Linked DNA regions of Homo sapiens: region 2 is linked to region 1. The links are contacts of gene promoters, found by promoter capture Hi-C in blood cells and fetal thymus (Javierre and others, 2016). All regions are on one chromosome and are shown on one strand. The core of a region is centred on a gene start or on the middle of the fragment in contact, and the rest is flanking DNA. Distances in the headings are between cores, read along the strand shown.

Region 1 (2,947 bases), core at 222-2,721:
GTGAACCCCTCTTCCACCTCACCTTGTACTCTAAGGGCCTAACACTGCCACAAAGAAACTGTTCCTAAAAAAGTCCTAATGAATGAATGGTTTCATGTGTGAACAAGCGATTCAGTCTGAGATGTCAACTAAAGAGACTATTTTGCTGAATGACTTTAACATATGCCCTAATGAAAGAAAGAAGCCCCCTAAAGTCTGGAATATTTATAAAAATTCAGAGCAAGTTTCCAAGAAAAGAACAATAGTATTTCACTGTGACAAAGACAGATGATAAGCAAGACTACTTCGTTCCTAAAAATTTCTACTAGGGTAGTAAATTATTCAAATAGGCAGACTTTGGGAATCCTCAAGGTGTTTTTTCCTAAAGAAAGGTTTCTCTCAAAGGTTTCCTTGTCATGGAAAAACCTAAGAGAAAATTTTGATAAAGAACTTGTTACTTAGAAATACAGCTAGCTAAATCTGTACTTTGTTTTGATACCGTACCTGTAGGTAAGTATCTAACCATACAATTTGTTTCTGGAACCACATTTAGCCCAAGAGGGTCCACGTTCTCAAGTTTAATAGAGTACACTGATCTGGGTGACCCAGTGAGATAACAAACCCTATTTCCAGCTTCTAGATACTGATGAATTATGGTTGAATAAATATCAGGAGAAGGAGAGACACAATGCAAAACAAATACGCAGGTTCTTCGTGGGTGAAGACGACCCTGGTCTAATGGGGCTCAACGAGGCAGAGTATCACAGAGTCAAAGCAAACTGCTGGTGGTTCCCAGGGACGTGGTGATAGGTTAGATGCACAAGCGAGCTGGCCAGCGGAACAGATGCAGCGCCCATACAAGTGGCTTAGCGAAGCCTGGGTGCATGCAGAGATGACTGGGCAAAGGAGAAATTTTGAGAGAAGTGGGGTGGGGTAGGAGGAGGGGCTCAAGATGGGAGTAGGAAATTTGGAGAACAAGTAGGAAAGCAGAATCAACTTTGGCAACCTTTAGAGTTGAGGGGTTAAGGGGTAGGGCAGGAGGATGAAGCGAGGAGAGAAGCTCGGGGAGTGGGGGTGGCGAAAATCAGAGCCCAGACAATGACACGCATGACTGACAAACGCTGCGGGTAGCTCGCCTGCAGGGAGCACTGGGCAGGCCTAGGGGTGTTGGGATTGGAGGACCCCGAGCTAGCAGTGCAGACAGTGGACGTGGCATTGGGGGTGCCGGGGCCAAAGGGAAGCGACAGCCAGGAGCCACGGGGTGCGGCGTGGAGAGGCAGGTGTCTCAGACTGGGGCGCAGGAGGTGTTCCCAGGGGGCCGGCAGCGTGGGGCTTGGGAGACCCGTGCCCTGACAATCTTACCCTAGATCTTCCAACGACTCCAAGATGTCAGTCTCCATGAGGTCACACTCCATGCTACTGTGGTATTCAAATTTCCGAGTCGTCAGGCTCCCCTCTTCGCCGGCAACGCGTACACTCGCGCATGCGCGACTTCCCCGGAACTTCCAAATCCACAGCTGGCGCCTCAGCTCCCGCACTGCGCATGTCCGGAGCGTGCGCAAGAAACTTGGTCCCACTGACCGCCCCACCCCTGCCCACTAAAGAATTACAGGGCCCGCAGTTTTGCACATGCGCGTTACTGGATCGTGAAGCTAGCCGCCCAGAGAAGGGTAGGAGGACCGGCTGCGTGGCAGCTGGGCGTGGGGACCACGCGAAGGGGAGCGCTCTCGGCTCTCGTTATTGGGTGTACGCATGTGCGAATGTAGGGGGCGCGGCGGGCCGGGAAGGAGCTTGGAAGAGTCTCGGGACGCGGGTGGAGTCGGCTGTTAAACCGAGTCTCTGCATCCCAGACAGGAGATCGGGTGGCTCTTCGTAGGGTGCCGGCATGTGCTAGCCTTAGCTTGCAGGTCATGTAGAAAGGGAGAATTCTTGCGCTCCCGTCTTCAGGACGCGGGTGCGGGCCAAGTGCAGACGGCAGATAGCGTGCCATTTGATTTCCTCGTGGCTGCAGTAGCTTTATTTCAGGGTTAGGGATGAGCCAACTTTCCGCAGACTATGGATGTTCAGAAAGTTGGGTCGTTTTCCCTCATGCATTCTCTACCTGATGTCTAAAGCCCTTCCCAGACACTAAGCATGTTATTTTAAGGAGAAGGGGAGCTTCACTCCATAGCAAATAGAATAGAATATTTTTAAATCCACGTAGTTTAGACAGTGAATAAACTTTTTGGCTGTACTGTCATTACTTTTGACATTATTTGCCCGGGTGAAACATTGAGTTCACGATGTGGATGTGTTGTGATATCTTGGCAGTTACTGAGGGTGTGTTTAGAAATTACTGAAAAATCAGAAATGTTTTCAAAGTGATGGCATATTTAGAAAACTATATTTAACCATAAGTTGGCGTACTGTTAAATCGTGTAGGCATTTAATTAAAGAGTTTTCATATTGATACCTGTTGATTTTATTCTATAGTTCTCAAGCATTTTTGTGTCTGATGGATAGATGTTCCTATCCTTAGTAGTACCTTTTTCTTTTCTTTCTTTTTTTTTTTTTTTTTTTATGAGACGGAGTCTTGCTCTGTCGCTCAGGCTGGAGTGCAGTGGTGCGATCTCGGCTCACTGCAAGCTCCGCCTCCCGGGTTCACGCCATTATTCTGCCTCAGCCTCCCAAGTAGCTGGGACCACAGGCGTTCACCACCACACCCAGCTAATTTTTTGTATTTTTAGTAGAGACGGGGTTTCACCATGTTAGCCAGGATGGTCTCGATCTCCTGACCTTGTGGTCCGCCCACCTTGGCCTCCCAAAGTGCTGGGATTACAGGCGTGAGCCACCGCGCCCGGCCAGTAGTACCTTTTTCAGTTTCCTTATTTTGCATCATCTGAAGTGGGGGTAGGTTTTCTGCACTTACCATGGGCACTTGATATGGCCCATTATGATGCAGTCACCATAAGGCTGTGTGAATATTAGT
Region 2 (2,700 bases), core at 76-2,575, about 15 Mb before region 1:
ACTACTGAATTTTTTATTAAAGCCATAAGCTGCGATGGAACCTAACCTCTGTGCCCCTTCAATGTGGAACATGTGGTCATCAAAGAAGATGTGGGGCCGGATCTTCACCAAGATGGGACTTTTGGGGGCTCCAGCAAGGAAAAGAGCTTCGTCTATCTCTAGACCCCAGCGTCGAAGGGTCTTCAGCACACGGGCGCCTGAACTGGCTGCACTCCTAGCTGTAACCAGGTAGGTCCTGATAGGACAAAGTAACCGTTCATTTTTGGCATAGAACTTCTTTTGCAGTCTGCCTAAATCTTCCAGAAAGCCTTTTAGGGGACCCTGTAAAAGGAACATATATCACAGCTGTGATACAGTGAGCCAAAGAAAGTGAATGCTAAAAAGCAGAGACCTATATGATACGATACAATACAAAGGATATAATACAGCATGACATGCAGTGTTATGAAGCTGATGGCAAAATGCTAAAACTTGATAGGAATTTATGTGAATATGTTTTCTGATATAGAACCATCCTTGCATTCCTGGAATGTGCCTAAAATGACCATATTATTTAACATGTAAACCTATATACTTTAGGTATGAAAGAATGTTCAATAAATACTTAAGCCAGGACAACAGACATAAACTATCCATGGTAAGCTGGAATAGAGGGTCACTCTAAATAAACTCTAATTAGTTACCAAAGCACTACTCTTTTAATTTGCTTTTTGTGAATTGTGCATTTTAACTTTATGAAGTATATGCTTTTGTCTAGTTTAATGCTGTTTGGCTTGAATCTAACTGTGTCTTTCATTTTTAACCTTTCCAAACACTTGGTTTTAGTATCTCTTGTACAGAGCCTAGAATTGGATTTTGCTATGTGATACAACCTGAAAATCTTATTTTTTAAAACAATAGTTAAGTTTTTGTTCATTTACATTTATTCATATTACAAACATACTTGAGATTGTTTCTGTCTTATGGTTTTTATTGCATTTTCCATGTTTTAAAATTTTTAAAGGATTGTTCAATAATCTGTGTCTTTCTTCTTTGTAGTTGTGTGTGGGTGGTTCTTCTGACATTTAAGAAGGTTTACATTATTTCCTTCTATAAATTACCTTTACAACTATAACCTTTTATAGTACCCTCAGTCCTCTATTTTAAAAAGAATCCCAGATCTATTATTCTTCATAATGAGAAATAATGAAAGCAGGGCATTTCTTCAATGTCTCTGTAGTCCTCTATTTCTTCTCCACCATCTAATTTTAGTCATTTATTTACTTTTCCTTGGTGTTTCTTTTGCATTATTACATTTTGTTTTATTTCTGTTTATCAAGTTTACATTTCATCCTTTGATTGGCTATTGTAACTGAAAATTCCAGCATACTTCTTCCGTAGACCTTCTTTCCCCATATTTTTCCATTTTTTGTTAGTTACATAATTTGTACATCATACAAATTTGTTCATTTGTACGGTTGTTTTAGTTTTAATTCTATGGTTAAGTATATTATATGACCATTTGTGCCTTTGTGCTTCTAGTCCTCTGCATGTTGGCCGAAATTTGTCCTGTAGTACTGATTTTCTCAAAAACATCTTATGGTAATAATCCCTGAGAATATAGTATATTCTCAACTATATATCTATTTCCTCTGTCCTTGAATAAACTTTTGGCTAGATATAGAATCCATGATTTACATATAAGATTCTCCACAAGATCTTATAAGTAGTGCTCCACTGTCTTTTGCTTTTGAATGCTGCTCTTGAGAAGTTTGAGGGCCTCTTGATTGCCATGCCACCTCTTCCATCACTTACATGAGTAGGCAGCCCAGATAATTATTTCTTCATTTTGAAGCCCAGTAATTTCACTAGGCCATGTCTCAGTGATGGTCATTTTGATTCTATACCTCTGTCATACAATATGGGCTTTTAATCTTTAATATTTTAATCATTTAATATATATAAACATCTTTGATAATTTAGCAGTTTTTAATTTATATTTTTACATTAATTTGCATCTTTATATTTAACATCAGTCCCCCTCCCCCAACATGATTTTAAAGTTTTTCTTCAGGGATTCTACTTAGGCATATGCTGGGTCTTCTTTACCTGTTATCTATTTCTGTCATTTTTCTATATGTAATTGTATTTTTAACAGTAACAGATGGGTAATAACTCTATTGGAAGGGACGAAAGATTTACAGCATTCTATAACTTTCACATTTTATCATGTCTTCCTTGACTATTGCATTTTTACTTTATGATCTTGCTTTAAGTCTTTAAAAGTCATGGCAAATGTTCAGTCATAATTATCTGTATTATGTCAACTTTTTCTTGTAAGAGCTCTTCATCTGTTATTAGATTTTTTTCTTTTTTAATCTGCCTTTTTCTCATAGTATCTTTGAATGTATTCAATGTCAGCTCTCTTTTTATTATTACTTATACTGAAGTAGACTGGTTTTTCTTGGGATAATTGGTGGGTTTCTAGGGGAAGGTCAAGGGTAGTATTTGGAGACTGACTTGTTTTCATGATTCAAAGGCTCCCTTCTTTGCTGTCATGGAAACAAACAGTTTTCTGTAAACATGACTTATTGTGTAACCATTTGCTTAAATTTTCTTTAAGGTTGTATATCTTAGAAAAAAACAAGTAAATTTGCTTTCTCACGGTAAGAGGCCATACATATAGGTGAAAAAACTGGGACTGTTTTTATGACAAAAGCA

What was found. The method cuts DNA at HindIII sites, captures the fragments that hold promoters and counts their contacts. A CHiCAGO score of 5 or more calls a contact.
Region 2: a contact is called between a fragment that was not itself captured here and the fragment with the promoter of FAM98A in region 1, in 1 of 17 cell types (non-activated CD4 T cells). The highest score is 7.1, in non-activated CD4 T cells.

The regions. Positions count from the first base shown.
Region 1 is chr2:33,597,828-33,600,774 of GRCh38, forward strand. FAM98A (family with sequence similarity 98 member A) reads right to left here and starts at 1,472. Exons shown (of 8, transcript NM_015475.5): 1 at 1,342-1,472. The coding sequence starts at 1,394. LOC105374455 (a long non-coding RNA gene) reads left to right here and starts at 1,518. Exons shown (of 3, transcript XR_939942.3): 1 at 1,518-2,947. RefSeq lists enhancers at 726-915, 1,466-1,535, 1,566-1,615, 1,756-1,985. The HindIII fragment of the contact is 3,614 bases long and covers 1-2,947 here.
Region 2 is chr2:18,563,799-18,566,498 of GRCh38, forward strand. NT5C1B-RDH14 (NT5C1B-RDH14 readthrough) reads right to left here. Exons shown (of 11, transcript NM_001199104.2): 10 at 47-321. NT5C1B (5'-nucleotidase, cytosolic IB) reads right to left here. Exons shown (of 9, transcript NM_033253.4): 9 at 1-321. It overlaps LOC105373456 (a long non-coding RNA gene), which reads left to right. Exons shown (of 6, transcript XR_007086234.1): 2 at 23-228. Among named protein-coding and RNA genes, the nearest start is that of RDH14, 4.5 kb to the left of the region's middle. The HindIII fragment of the contact is 3,268 bases long and covers 1-2,700 here.